Linked DNA regions of Homo sapiens: all the other regions are linked to region 2. The links are contacts of gene promoters, found by promoter capture Hi-C in blood cells and fetal thymus (Javierre and others, 2016). All regions are on one chromosome and are shown on one strand. Each heading gives the region's core, a stretch centred on a gene start or on the middle of the fragment in contact. The rest is flanking DNA. Distances are from core to core; before and after follow the strand shown.

Region 1 (4,741 bases), core at 1,567-4,066, 760 kb after region 2:
TCGCCAGCCCCTCCTGCCACTTCCTCCTCCTCCTCTCCCTCAGAGAGGAGGTCACAGATCTGTTGCTGCAGCTCTGGGCTAATGCTGTTCTCAGCCAACACCAGGCTCCGCAAAGCTGTGGGGTAATTTTCTACCATGTCCAGCAGGGTCTGAAGTGGGGAAGAATATGGAAAAGGATGAACACAGTTAAGGCAGGTCCTCAGACCTCAACCTGCCATGCCTTAGGTATGTCATCAGACACATAAACTAACCTCCACCCCATCCCCTGGCCGTGCCCAAACATGACGACTTCCCACCTGAGCTGACTGGTTGGTGAGCCCTGTGCCCTCCAAGTCTAGGACCTCTAGGGTACGACTAGAGGCCACAGCTACAGCCAGCATTCCTGCCACATGGTCACCTGGGGAGACAACACACGTGCACACATTCATACACATGCCTGCTAATCCTTACAGATAGCTTCCCCATTGCCTTAACAACTTTAGATACTAATCCCTGGCCAAGGAAACATGGACAATTGGTGGTGGTCAGGAAGGGATCATTGTGATTGGTGAGTGAAGGCACGAAGCAAGTTAGGCCCACGGGTGGTGACTGATGTTTTGATCTATTTGTTGGTCACCTGGTCCGCCACAAAGCTATCTCCTTGACCCCTGGGGGCTCCCGTTTCTCTTCCCTCTCCCAGTGTACGGGTTACCATGTCAACTGATGGTCCCAGGCTCTTGGATAGGGCATGAGGCAGTGACAGCCCAAGGGGGTATTCTTGAGCCTCACCCAGGGGGTTGTAATCCAGATTGAGGACGCGGACCTGGGAGCTGTGGGCCACGGCAATGGCAAGGCGGCTCCAGCCCTTAGGGGTGATGCCAGGGTTGGCACTCAGCGTTAGCTCCTTCAAGCCTGGGCAGCATCATAGCAAGAAACCAGAATAGGGAGGGTTAAGCCCTCCTCCAGCCCTTCCCCACAATCCCTGTGTCTCTGGGGTGTCCCTAGTGGCTGGGCACCACCTTACCCCCACCATAGAGGTCAAGAGCCATTAAGGAGGCCCATGCTTCCTCTGCCTGCCCCAGCCTGGATTCCTGAGTCTCCATGCTGCCCCCCGTCCTGCCCCTTCCTGAGAGGAGTAGAAAGATGTTCTCGCCCACATCATCAGAGCTCTGGGGCCACACCCCCTTCCCTCTGCATTTCGATTTTCATCACTGCCACACTAGCCCAAGCCCTCAACAGGGTCCTGCTCACCAGATTTGGCCCCATCTGGGGGCAGGAGGCCACAGATGAGGTTGATGGCTTCATCACCCAGCATGCAGTCCCCCAGGTCCAGAGCCACGAGGGCAGGGTGGAGGGCCAGGGCTGGGTTCAGCAAGGCCAGCCCCGCATCTGTCAGGGGGCTCCCATGCAGGCTGGAGGAGAGTGAGAGAGCAGGGTTACTGCAGTCCTCCGCACTATCTACATGGGAAAGGGGCACTTTCACTTCTGTCAGCCCTAGGTATGGGGAGGGCAGTCACAGCGCTTGAGAGGCCTGGAAAAGGAGAAGGAAAGTTCTAGATTCTCAGGGAATACAGATAGAGGGAGAATTCGGTTTGTTTTCTGGGGCAGGGATCCAGGACATTGCACAGGGAGGGGCAGAGAAGGGGTGGGTGGGTGGTGGACCGGAACTCTGCAGTGGGCAGGGCTCTCGTCCCCACGGGGATATTCCCCCTTGGGAACCAAGGAGCTGCCCCAGTGAAGTAAATGCAGATGATTAGGTGGGGAGGTACGGCCCCCACCTCATGTCAGGAACTGGTGGGTATCCCAACACGGCTAGGGTCGCGCGTGCAAAGTCCAAGCATGTGCTTGGAGGGTGCTGTGAAGGCATGGGCCGAGGCACGGTGTATGTGCATAAGGCATGTGAAGGTAGGATGGTACTGGAAGGAGTGTGGAGGAACAGGAGGTGCCAGGGGAGTGTATGGAAGGGTGCAGTGCCCGGGACCCCCTTGCGAGGGGGCGCACTCACAAGAGGGACTGGATGGAGCGGTTGGTCCGCAGAGCCTCAGCCAGCTGCTTGATGCGGCTGGGGCTGGACACGACGCCCAGGTTAAGGTTGAGCTGCGCCAGGGACGTGGCCCCGGCCAGGGCCCGGCAGATGCGGCCAAAGTCGCGGTCGCAGAGGCGGCAGCCGCGCAGTGAGAGCAGGCGCACGGCGTTGTCGCGAAGGCCGCGGCAGATGTCCCGCACCTCGGCGCCGGACAGCGGCTCCCCCGAAATCTGGATGGAGCTGGGCAGCATCGTGCCCACGGCTGGGCCTCCGGGTACGGGGCCGGAACGGAGGTTGGTGGGGCCGCGGGCGGGGCCGGGGATAGGGCCGGGGTCGGGGCCCCGGCAGGGGTCGCGGGCGGAGTGGGGCCGGGGGTGGAGGCGGCGGCTGTGGCGGAGGCTGCGGCTGCGGCGGAGGCTGCGGCGGGGGCGGAGAAGAGCTACCGGGACTGAGCCGGAGCCGGCCAGAGGTGCGGAGGCGTCCAGGGCGCGGGCCGGGCTGAAGTGGGGCGGCGCTGGGGCGGGGGCGGCCCGCACGGTCCGTGTCTGGGCGTTGGGGCGGGTGCGCGTTCCGGGGGTTGGGCAGGCGCTGCTCGGCGCTTGTCCTTGTCCCTCGCGGTCGCGGCGGCGGCGGCGGCAGCGGCAGCGAGCGGCTCAAGGGCTTCGGCTTACCGGTCTCGGCTAGGAGGCCGTACCCGCTCCCTCCTTCTCTGCCGCCCGGCTCCCCCCGACCACCCCGCGGGCCTGGCCGCACGGCTGGCAGAGAGAGCCTGAGGCGGGCGGCTGGCGGCAGCTCCGGCTCCAGCTCCAGAGAGCGAGCGGGCGGCGAGTTCCCATGGCAACGGCCGCGTCACCGGCGCTCGCCCCGCCCCCTGCCCGGCCAAGGCCACGCCGGCCCGCGAGGTTCGCGTACACTGGGTGGTTCGGGGCAAGGAGCTGGGAGCGATAGGCCGCTCTTCCCTTGGGAGTGGGGTCAGCCAACTGGCAGGCGGCAGGCGGCAGGGCTGAGTGGGTAGGGCTGACGGGGAGCGGAATGGAGGCACGCCCCGTGGAGATGGCGTTGGGCACGGTTACTGCTGCTTCTGCCCATTCTTCCATCCTTCCCCGTTCCTAAGGTCCATACCCCCGCCGGAATCCAGGGCACTGTTCCCTCCTATTTGGAAGGCCCCAGGGCCCTTTCATCCGCGCCGCGCCTCGCTCCCGCCCCCGTGACTCGAGGCGCAGCGTGCGTGGTGATCCCGGCCCATGGGGACTTCCCCGCTTGCTCCTCGCCAAGATGGCGGCCTCATCAGGGAGGCCCCAGGGGCCACGGCTGGGCAGAGCCAGCTTGAGCTGCTGGGGAGAAGGGTACCCCATAGGGTCCCTAGGGCAGGGGAGCCTCAGATAGATGCAAGGTCCTGGTGCCACACCTTCTCAGGTACGCAGGGCACTGTTGACATCTGAGGGTGTGTCCGTGCCGCGAGACTGGGGCAGCCAATACAAAGAAGGTGCCAGGGCCAGGGCCCTGGAGCACTGGTGAGGACGTGAAGGCGGCTGAGCCACACTGCACGGTGCAGGCGGTGCTGTCTCAACTTTGTCCTCTGGCCAGGGTGGTGGGGGACTCACTTGTGTAACGCAGGACAAATGAAGGGCACCTCTGTTTGTCCCTTTGTTAGGAGGGATAGATGCTGCTGACCCAGATTTACTAGTGTTAAGATGATTATTTTACATAAAATATAATATTCAATATAGTGAAGGGAGGTCAAAGGCCCTATTCCCACTCTTAGCCACCTGAATTAACTTATTAAGTGGAGCATATTAAAGAGGTGGTGGGGGTGGATGGTGCTATGTTAGGAGTGGTGGTTGGTTTTAAGAGGAAAGACAGAAAAACTAAAAGGAGCTGGCCCCAGTACCACCAAGGCAAAGCCAAATTTGGCTTCAATTAAGAGCTCCACAGGAAAATTATCAACACAATGCCCAGGTGCAGAAGATCCTTGTTTTGACACGGGGTTTAAGTCGGGATGTTTTGTTCAATTGTCACTGCTTCCTTGGCTTCCCAAGAGAGCAGCTGAGCCCAGACTCAAGCTGGCTGCAGTGTTCCATCAGGCTTATGGCTTTTGTGCTTGAGGCCTCCCTGCCGCTTCATGGGTCAGGTGTGATATTCAATCACTGCCTTCTATGTAGTCTGGCCTGTCCCACCTTTATCTTGCCTGGGTGAGGATATGAAGAAGGGAACATATGACATTACCACTGTTGACTGAGTAGGAAAGTATATAGGAAGCGGGATGACAGGGAGGACCACTGGATCAGCCGCTGCAGTTCCAGACTTCAATCAACATTTTAATTACCAAGTCTATATTTAGCAAGACAATGTGGGAGAGATAAAGAGGAAGGAAGGGGTAGGTGGGGAGGGGTTCTCAAAGGAGCTGACCCATTTTCTGCATTGGCTGCAGAGCCTTGCAGTCCTGGCCAGGAGTTCTTGGCCTTGTGCCTTTCAGAAGTGCCGACAGGCATCAAGGAGGTACTTACGCAGCTACAGCTCAGTGGCAGCTGCAAACCCCATCTACGAAACATGTCATCAGGACTGTCCTTTAATAGTCTTCCTCCTCTCTGCAGCTGCGGGAAAGAGGACTGGCCAAGAATTTCAGGTGGGGTCAGTGTGACTGCAGGGTCACCGCAACAGCTTTGGCTGTGGCGTTGAGGACGGTGGTGGGAAGCCGAGCAGCAGGGAGCATGGCAGGGATGTCTCTGGGGACCC
Region 2 (4,399 bases), core at 1,529-4,028:
GGAAATGCAATGGCACAGTAATGGCTCACTGCTACCTCTTCTTGCCAGGTTCAAAGGATTCTCATGCCTCAGCATCCCGAGTAGCTGGGATTACAAACACGCACCACCACCCAGCACTTGGAAGACCACGGGGGACAGATTGCTTGAGCTCAGGAGTTCGAGACCAGCCTGGGCAACATGATGAAGCCCTCTCTACAAAAAATACACAAATTAGCCGGGGGTGATGGGGTGCACCTGTAGTCCCAGCTACTTGGGAGGCTGAGGTTGGAGGATATCTTGAGCCCAGAAGGTCCTTCACCCAGACCCTGTCTCAAAGAAACAAAGGAAAAAAAAAAAAAAAAGGACCGGGCACAGTGGCTCACGCCTATAATCCCAGGACTTTGGGAGGCTGAGGCAGGTGGATCAGCCGAGGTCAGGAGTTCAAGACCAGTCTTGCCAACATGGTGAAATTCTCTATTAAAAATACAAAAAATTAGCCGAGCATGGTGGCGGGCTCCTGTAATCCCAGCTGCTCGGGAGGTTGAGGCAAGAGAGTCACTTGAACCAGGGACGCTGAGGTTGCACTGAGCTGAGATCACGCCACTGCACTCCAGCCTGGGCAACAAGAGCGAAACTCTGTCTCAAAAAAAAAAAAAAAAAAGAAACACGTAAAGAGTGATGGCTCTCCGAAGGAACTGAATGTCTAGGGACAAAGGAATTACCTATGGTTTTTTGTTTTTGAGACAGTGTCTCACTCTGCCACACAGGCTGGAGTGCAGTGGCGTGATGTCAGCTCACGACAACCTGTCTCCCAGGTTCAAGCAGTTCTCCTGAGTAGCTGGGACTACAGGTGTGAACTATCATGCCCGGCTAATTTTTGTGTTTTTAGTAGAGACGGGGTTTCACCTGGCACCGGGTCTCCAACTCTTGACCTCAAGTGATCTGCCCACCTCAGCCTCCCAAAGTGCTGGGATTGCAGGCGTGAGCCCCCGGGCTCAGCTCTGGAATTTATTAAATATGTATCTATACCCTGACACTGCTGGTTACTGTCTATAATCCGAGTGTTTTGGGAGGCTGAGGCAGGAGAATTGCTTGAGGTCAGGAGTTCGAAACCAGCCTGGGCAACATAAGGAGAGCCCATCTCTTTAAAAACAAAACACACACACACACACACACACCAAACAAACCCATGTATTTACTGCAGACCTACTTTATTATGCACCGTGATGTTTCAAGTATCACAAACCATTACAAAGCAATATAATCACCCTCCTTCCCCCTTACTGCTTCAAACTATTGTGGTAAAAATAAATAAATAAAGCCCTGGCGTGGTGGCTCACGCCTGTAATGCCAGCACTTTGGGAAGCTGAAGCGGGTGGATCACCTGAGGTCAGGAGTTCGAGAGCAGCCCGGACAACATGGCGAAACCCCGTCTCTACTAAAAATACAAGTTCGCGTGGTGGCGCGCGCCTGTAATCCCAGCGCGCCACCACGCTGGGGGACGGAGTAAGACTCAGTCTCAAAGGCATGACGAAAATAGCAAAAATGCTTTAGTGTTATACCTGTTACGAATTTAATGGAAATTACAAGTAGGAGCCCATTACAATCTCTAGCCTTAAAATGCTGAAAACATACACAGTGTGACAATAAGTAAACTTCGAGACCCAATAAGGGGGAAAGTCCAACGTGGAAAGTATTTGGTAGGAGTGAAGAACAGAGTGACAACTGCTTAGTCCCACTGGATATTTCGCTCCTCTTCAGGAAGAATACTCCAGTTTGGGGAGGCCATATCCCGGGCCAGCCAGTTAAAATCGTCAACATCGTTCCAGTTATTTTTGCTCCTATCTAAACCAGAGCTCTCGAAGTCCTTGTCGATCTCCGGGTAGCTCCAGGTGTAAGGGGCGAACTGGATCCCACTGCAGTCCTCCACGATGGCCCTGCTGGTCACCTGCAGGAAGATGCGGGTGTCTTTCGTACTGTGTATGCGGAGCTGTTGGCAGGCCACTGCCAGCACGCAGTCACTGCAGTCCTCCAGGAAAACAGAGGTAGACACCGGACCGCAGAGCAGCTTGCAGCTGTGGGCCTTGGTTAGCCGCAGGGTGTTGGGATTTCCATACAGTCTGACCGTGCAGTTGCTCAGTTCGGTCAAAAGAACGTCGCGCTGGTGCAACTCGCTGGCTCTCTTCTCCAAGACTTGGGACTCCAGGTTGGAGAAACCGCAGACCCAGCTGGGGCCGAGGTCTCCTTCCGCCTTCTTGGGCAGCGGGGAGTCCTGTATGCTTTCAACTGCCGGGGGGATGCCAGGAGCCGCGTCTACTTTGGTAGACGAAGCAGCATCCTTTCCCCGGGTCTTGAAAGCGAAACGCTTCTTGGGCTGCAGCCCCCGGCGCCGCTCGGCCAAGGCCGCCTGCAGCCGCGCCAGCGCCTCTTGTCCCTGCCGCAGGTCGTAAGCGGCTAGGAAAAAAACTGAGTCGTTGATTAGTTTCTGCAGCCCCTGGAGCCGAGAGGCCGCCTCCTCCAGCCGCTCGACCGACTCCGCGCGCTCCAGAAGCTCTTCCACGGCCGCTCGCTCCCGAACAAAGGTGGCGACGAAAAAGTGGCTGTTCTCCTTCTCTACCTCCTGGTTCTGCCGCTTTTGTTTCCGCCTTTCAACTTCCAGCTGCCGTTCTTGTTCGCGTCTCTGAAGCCGCTCAGGCACCAGGCTCAGGTCCCGCTGGGACTCCATGTCTCCGGTCCTGACAGCAGCAGCGGAGCAACTGACGGACTCCATATTGGCTTCAAGCTTCCTCTCTCTTGTCTTCCTTCCTCCGGGCGCGCTGTCCGTGAGGCCTCCCACCAACGCGTCCGGTGATTGGCCTAACATGATGATGTCAGATCCCCGGCCTTATTTTCTTCGCCTATTGGTTCCTCTGCGTCGGAGGGGGCGGGGAGATGGGGCGGGGCCGACTGACTATGGGGGTGGGAAGACAAAGGTTCTTGTGGATGGGTGGGGTGGGAGGCAGGCGGGGGAATCTTTTTTTTCCTCTTAAAGGGGCAGGACTTATATCCGGGATTGTGGGGTGAGTTGCAGCAGCGGCAGCTGCACATGTGGGTTTGTTTATAAGAACAAGGTTAGAAACTCGCAGGCCTCCCCCTCCCCCCAGCTCCTCCCTACTACCCCCTTACAGGCCGGAGATCCGCTACTAGGGGTGTGGGTGGGAGGGATGAGTGCGTGTGGTGGGTTGGGGGGACAGGTAGTGGTGAGAAAGATGGAGCGGGGGGGAATATTGCACCGCCTGGCCCGCGCCGGAGGAAGCAGCAGCTGGAACAGCTGGCTGGGGAGCCGCTTGCATGCCTCCGGTTTTTTCTTTTCCCTTCCACCACCCCTTCCCCCAACCCATTTCTGCCTCCCCGTAGCCCTCATCCTTACCGCCCCCCTCCCCCCTATCCACTGCAGTTCGGCGCGGCCTGGGGGCTCCTGGATCCCCGCAGGCAGTTACTAGGGCAGGAGAAGGCAAGGGGCACTGCGATGGGAGAGACTGGGTTCCTCACTGCAACCTGGTTCGAGGGGCCCTGGGGGAGTCCATAAAAGGATTACTATTTTTTTGGCCAATTGCTGCAGTCGGAGGGGTGGGGGCGGGGGAAGGTGAGATCCACACCCCCTTCCTCTTTCTTCCCTGCCCTCCCCGAGCTCGGTCCCGGCCACTCCCTCCGCAGCTGGGCGTCGCCGGCCGCGCTGGGGTGAGACCCTAGCCCCGGGCTCCGTGGCTCTCTGGGGCGGTCGGTCTTAGGAAAGCGGTGGGAGAAGCGGTACATTATTTCTAGGGGTGGTGGGAGGGATTTGTCACCGGAAGTGAATGGCCTAGCCTAAAGTCGGGACCAACCCGAGGTGTGGGTGGGCAGCCAAGACGGCGCAGTCACTGGCAAAAACCCGAGGCAGCGGGCAGGGCGAGAACCCGAGACGCAGCCGCTGCCCGGGCGCGGCAGCCTCGCATGCTTCGCTCAGATCTGCGGAGCTCCCGAACCTCTTTAACCCTGCCCGCCCTTCCAACCCTAGGTTTCCTCCTTATATCCCCAGTTCCCAGCCTCCATCGTTTAAATTGGGGTATTTAACGACCCAAGAAACTTGAAATTTCACCGATCTACCTGCATTTTGATGCAGAGAAAGATGGGAGGAAACGCGAACCATTGAATTAAATCTGAGTTAAAACTGATCTCCCATTTTCACGCCCCACTCTCTTCCTTTCCTTCCCACTTAAAACAAACAAAACACACATAAATTGCTGGGCCAGAGTATTTCTCCGCTGAGAGCACAGTTCATACCGTGTGGCAGATTCCCCGCGCAGGCGGGGCGCGGGGGCAGGGGAGAGGCTTGTGTGTCCGCGTGCCTGCGTGCACCCGATGGAAAAGGGGGTGCCGAAAAACAATGGTGCTTACTCTT
Region 3 (4,103 bases), core at 1,596-4,095, 680 kb after region 2:
CCCTCTGATGCCGAGCAGAAGCTGGACTGTACTGCCGCTATCTCGGCTCACTGCAACCTCCCTGCCTGATTCTCCTGCCTCAGCCTGCCGAGTGCCTGGGATTGCAGGCGCGCGCCGCCACGCCTGACTGGTTTTCATATTTTTTTTGGTGGAGACGGGGTTTCGCTGTGTTGGCCGGGCTGGTCTCCAGCTCCTAACCGTGAGTTATCTGCCAGCCTCGGCCTCCCGAGGTACCGGGAATGCAGACGGAGTCTCATTCACTCAGTGCTCAATGTTGCCCAGGCTGGAGTGCAGTGGCGTGATCTCGGCTGGCTACAACCTCCACCTCCCAGCCGCCTGCCTTGGCCTCCCAAAGTGCCGAGATTGCAGCCTCTGCCTGGCCGCCATCCCGTCTAGGAAGTGAGGAGCGTCTCTGCCCGGCCGCCCATCGTCTGAGATGTGGGGAGCGCCTCTGCCCCGCCGCCCCGTCTGGGAGATGAGGAGCGTCTCTGCCCGGCCGCCCCGTCTGAGAAGTGAGGAGCCCCTCCGCCCAGCAGCCGCCCCGTCTGAGAAGTGAGGAGCCCCTCCGCCCGGCAGCTGCCCTGTCTGGGAAGTGAGGAGCGTCTCCGCCTGGCAGCTGCCCCGTCCGGGAGGTGGGGGGCAGCCCCCGCCCGGCTAGCTGCCCCGTCCAGGAGGTGGGGGGGGGCGCCTCCGCCCGGCCAGCTGCCCTGTCCTGGAGGTGGGGGGCGCCTCTGTCCGGCCGCCCCTTCTGGGAAGTGATGAGCCCCTCTGCCCGGCCGCCACCCCATCTGGGAGGTGTACCCAACAGCTCATTGAGAACGGGCCATGATGACGATGGTGGTTTTGTCGAATAGAAAAGGGGGAAATGTGGGGAAAAGATAGAGAAATCAGATTGTTGCTGTGTCTGTGTAGAAAGAAGTAGACATAGGAGACTCCATTTTGTTCTGTACTAAGAAAAATTCTTCTGCCTTGGAATGCTGTTAATATATGACCTTACCCCCAACCCCCTGCTCTCTGAAACATGTGCTGTGTCCGCTGAGGGTTAAATGGATTAAGGGCGGTGCAAGTGCTTTGTTAAACAGATGCTTGATGGCAGCATGCTCGTTAAGAGTCATCACCACTCCCTAATCTCAAGTACCCAGGGACACAAACACTGCGGAAGGCCGCAGGGTCCTCTGCCTAGGAAAACCAGAGACCTTTGTTCACTTGTTTATCTGCTGACCTTCCCTCCACTATTGTCTTATGACCCTGCCAAATCCCCTTCTGCGAGAAACACCCAAGAATGATCAATAAAAATAAATAAATAAATAAATAAAAAACTGTGATTCATGGGATTCATGGGAGGAGGACAACGTATATCAACATTAACAGAAGTTTGGAAGAAGCTGATTCCAACCTTCACGGATGGACCTTCAAGACATCAGTGGAGGAAGTAACTGCAGATGTGATGGAAACAGCAAGTGAATTAGAATTAGAAGTGGAGCCTGGCCAGGTGCAGTGGCTCACACCTATAATCCCAGCACTTTGGGAGGCCAAGGCAAGCGCATCACCTGAGGCCAGGAGTTCAAGACCAGCCTGGGCCAGGTAGCAAGACTCTGTTAATTAATTACTAAAGATTGTGAAATGCAAACCTACATCTCTTAGTTTTTAAAAATAGGAAAATTAATTCTTGACGTTGAGGGATATGGGGCTTCTTACTGAGATTAAGTGGGATAACCATAATTGTCATTTGTTTAGCTTTTCTTCTTCAAGCACTGTACACACCTATGTAAAGGCGGATACCAACACCATGCCTGACAAACATAATAAAATAAAGATGCAGAAGTAACCTGCCCAACATCCCTCTGCTAAAAGCATTCAAACCCAGGTCCGTATAATTATAAAGGTTATGTTCTTCCCACTGCTTCCTTAAAAGATTTATTGGAGGACTACCCTAGGCAAAGCACTTGCCCTAAGCACTCTAAATTAATTATTCAACTCTCTCAACAGTACTTTAGTATTGGTATTGTCCCTGTTGTACAAATAAAGAAGTTGAGGCTCGGCCGGGGTGGTGGCTCACGCCTGTAATCCCGGCTCTTCGGAAGGCCAAGGCGGACGGATCACGAGGTCAGGAGATCGAGACCATCCTTGCCAACATGGTGAAACCCCGTCTCTACTAAAAATACGAACAAAAAAATTGGCTGGGCGTGGTTGCGCGCGCCTGTAGTCCCAGCTACTCGGGAGGCTGAGGCAGGAGAATCGCTTTAACCCGGGAGGCGGAGGTTGCAGTGAACCGAGATTGTGCCACTGCACTCCAGCCTGGTGACAGAGCGAGACTCCGTCCCCCCCCCAAAAAAAAGTTGAGGCTCAAAAAAGTTAGGTAACTTGTCCAAGGTCATGCAGCCCTAGAATAATAAGGGAAAACAGTGTGTCCCAAAATGGCATTATTTGTCCGTGGGGCAGGTATGTTTGAATTTCCATCCATCCATCTATCTATCTGAGACTGGGGTCTCGCTATGCTGCTTGGACTGTTCTCGAACTCCTGGGCTCAGGCCATCCTCCTGGGATCTACCGGCGCGCAGAGACTACGGGCGCGCAGGGACTACCGAGGCGCGCAACCGTGCCCGGCTCCCCACCTCTTCAAGAAATGGAGATTGCAATGCTTGTGCCAACTAGTAAGCTTACACAGTTGTGAGCGAATACTCCACGTGAGAGGTTATAAATGACGTTGCACTAAGGGAGGGATGGATCCTTAACGCAAGTCAGGCCACAAAAGCGTACCAAAACGCAACTGTGCGTCTGCACCAGCGCGCCTGCGTGCAAAGGCCAGCCGAAGCAGAGAGCAGTGCACATGCGTGCAGCTACCAGCATATGGGCGTGGCGAATAGCGCCGGCTAGGTCTTCCAACCTCTAGGTGGGGTGCCAGCCGGGGCGGGCCCAGCACCCCGGCCGGGCAGTACTTTTTTTTTTTTTGCATACACCAGTTCTCAGGATATCGGAATCCGGTGCACAGCAGCTTCTTCAGGTTTGAGGTTCCGGATGCCTGGGGGCGGAGAAACGGGAGGGGAAAAACAGATGGCAAGGTGGGTGACCAGCGTCCAGAAATCCACTGGGGAAACCTCCTCCCGTTTTTACCCTTGGTACCGCGAGAATGGGCGGGGTCTGGCTTCGGGGCGGAAGCGACGGGCGGTCCCGGTTCCAGGGCGGGGCTGGAGACAGGGAGACCCGGCTGGGAAGTGCAGGCAAAGCCGGCTGTTACCCTGCACAGCCGTCACCCTCAACTTTCCCTTCAGGTGAGGCGTCCATGGAACGACTTCTGGCCCAGCTGTGCGGCAGCAGCGCAGCGTGGCCGCTCCCGCTGTGGGAGGGGGACACCACAGGCCACTGCTTCACCCAGCTGGTGCTCAGCGCCCTGCCCCACGCGCTCCTCGCCGTGCTCAGTGCCTGTTACTTGGGCACCCCGAGGTGGGTAGAGACGGGCGCAAGGCATCTGTCCATGTGTGCCTGCAGATCTCACCCGCGGCCTACATCTTCCGGCAGTGTCACCAGAATAGCGAGGTCTCTGGAGTAGGGCAGAAGTAGAATAAAATCTAAGCATTGCTACTTAGCAGCAATGTGGCTGTTCTTGGGCAAGTACCTGCCTTCTCTGAGTCTCATTGTTGGGAGGTTTAAATGAGATAATGAATTTAAGCATATAGTGCAGCGCCTGGCATGTTTTTAAAGGTCCGATGAGTATCAGAAATCATCAGAATTGTCCATTTTCAGCTACCCGGACTCAGCTGTCATGAATTGGAGGCAGAATTGGGGGAACAACGTTTTTAGCCAAAAGCGATGATGTGTTTAAGTTGTAGGCTCAGTTTCTCACCACTGCAACCCATGAAACCTTAGTGTTTCCAGATTAAGAAAAGCATACCTAGGCTCAGCTGAAGAGGAAGCAGTAGATAGACAAGAAGAGCAAAATCAAACATTAAGCCTTCCCCAATTAAGGGCTATAAGGTGTGGATGCTAAACTCAACTTGATTTTGTATTTAGTTCTTGTATGGCTAGAGATGACTAAAGTTAGTCTCATTCTGGCTGCCGAGAAGATAGGAGGACGGTGTGGTCTCTGCCTTTGGGAGTTCCTA

Evidence for each region. The method cuts DNA at HindIII sites, captures the fragments that hold promoters and counts their contacts. A CHiCAGO score of 5 or more calls a contact.
Region 1: the fragment with the promoter of LRRC73 here is called in contact with the fragment with the promoter of TBCC in region 2 in 1 of 17 cell types (total B cells); the score reaches 5.2 in total B cells.
Region 3: the fragment with the promoter of ABCC10 here is called in contact with the fragment with the promoter of TBCC in region 2 in 1 of 17 cell types (fetal thymus); the score reaches 5.4 in fetal thymus.

Annotation. Positions count from the first base shown.
Region 1 is chr6:43,507,530-43,512,270 of GRCh38, forward strand. It overlaps LRRC73 (leucine rich repeat containing 73), which reads right to left and starts at 2,817. Exons shown (of 6, transcript NM_001012974.4): 1 at 1,985-2,817; 2 at 1,231-1,391; 3 at 769-891; 4 at 297-397; 5 at 1-149. The coding sequence starts at 2,256. It overlaps YIPF3 (Yip1 domain family member 3), which reads right to left. Exons shown (of 9, transcript NM_015388.4): 9 at 4,303-4,741. The coding sequence ends at 4,638. RefSeq lists silencers at 2,395-2,664, 2,685-2,974. The HindIII fragment of the contact is 9,076 bases long and covers 1-4,741 here.
Region 2 is chr6:42,743,325-42,747,723 of GRCh38, forward strand. TBCC (tubulin folding cofactor C) reads right to left here and starts at 2,779. Exons shown (of 1, transcript NM_003192.3): 1 at 1,174-2,779. The coding sequence starts at 2,749. The coding sequence ends at 1,709. It also overlaps a transcript of BICRAL not described here. RefSeq lists enhancers at 2,268-2,427, 2,488-2,567, 2,598-2,807, 2,872-3,835, 4,222-4,271 and a silencer at 3,778-3,837. The HindIII fragment of the contact is 2,174 bases long and covers 2,760-4,399 here.
Region 3 is chr6:43,424,696-43,428,798 of GRCh38, forward strand. ABCC10 (ATP binding cassette subfamily C member 10) reads left to right here and starts at 2,846. Exons shown (of 22, transcript NM_001198934.2): 1 at 2,846-3,062; 2 at 3,273-3,444. The coding sequence starts at 3,284. It overlaps LOC105375065 (a long non-coding RNA gene), which reads left to right. Exons shown (of 6, transcript XR_007059585.1): 6 at 1-1,319. RefSeq lists enhancers at 800-1,321, 3,423-3,492. The HindIII fragment of the contact is 12,589 bases long and covers 2,658-4,103 here.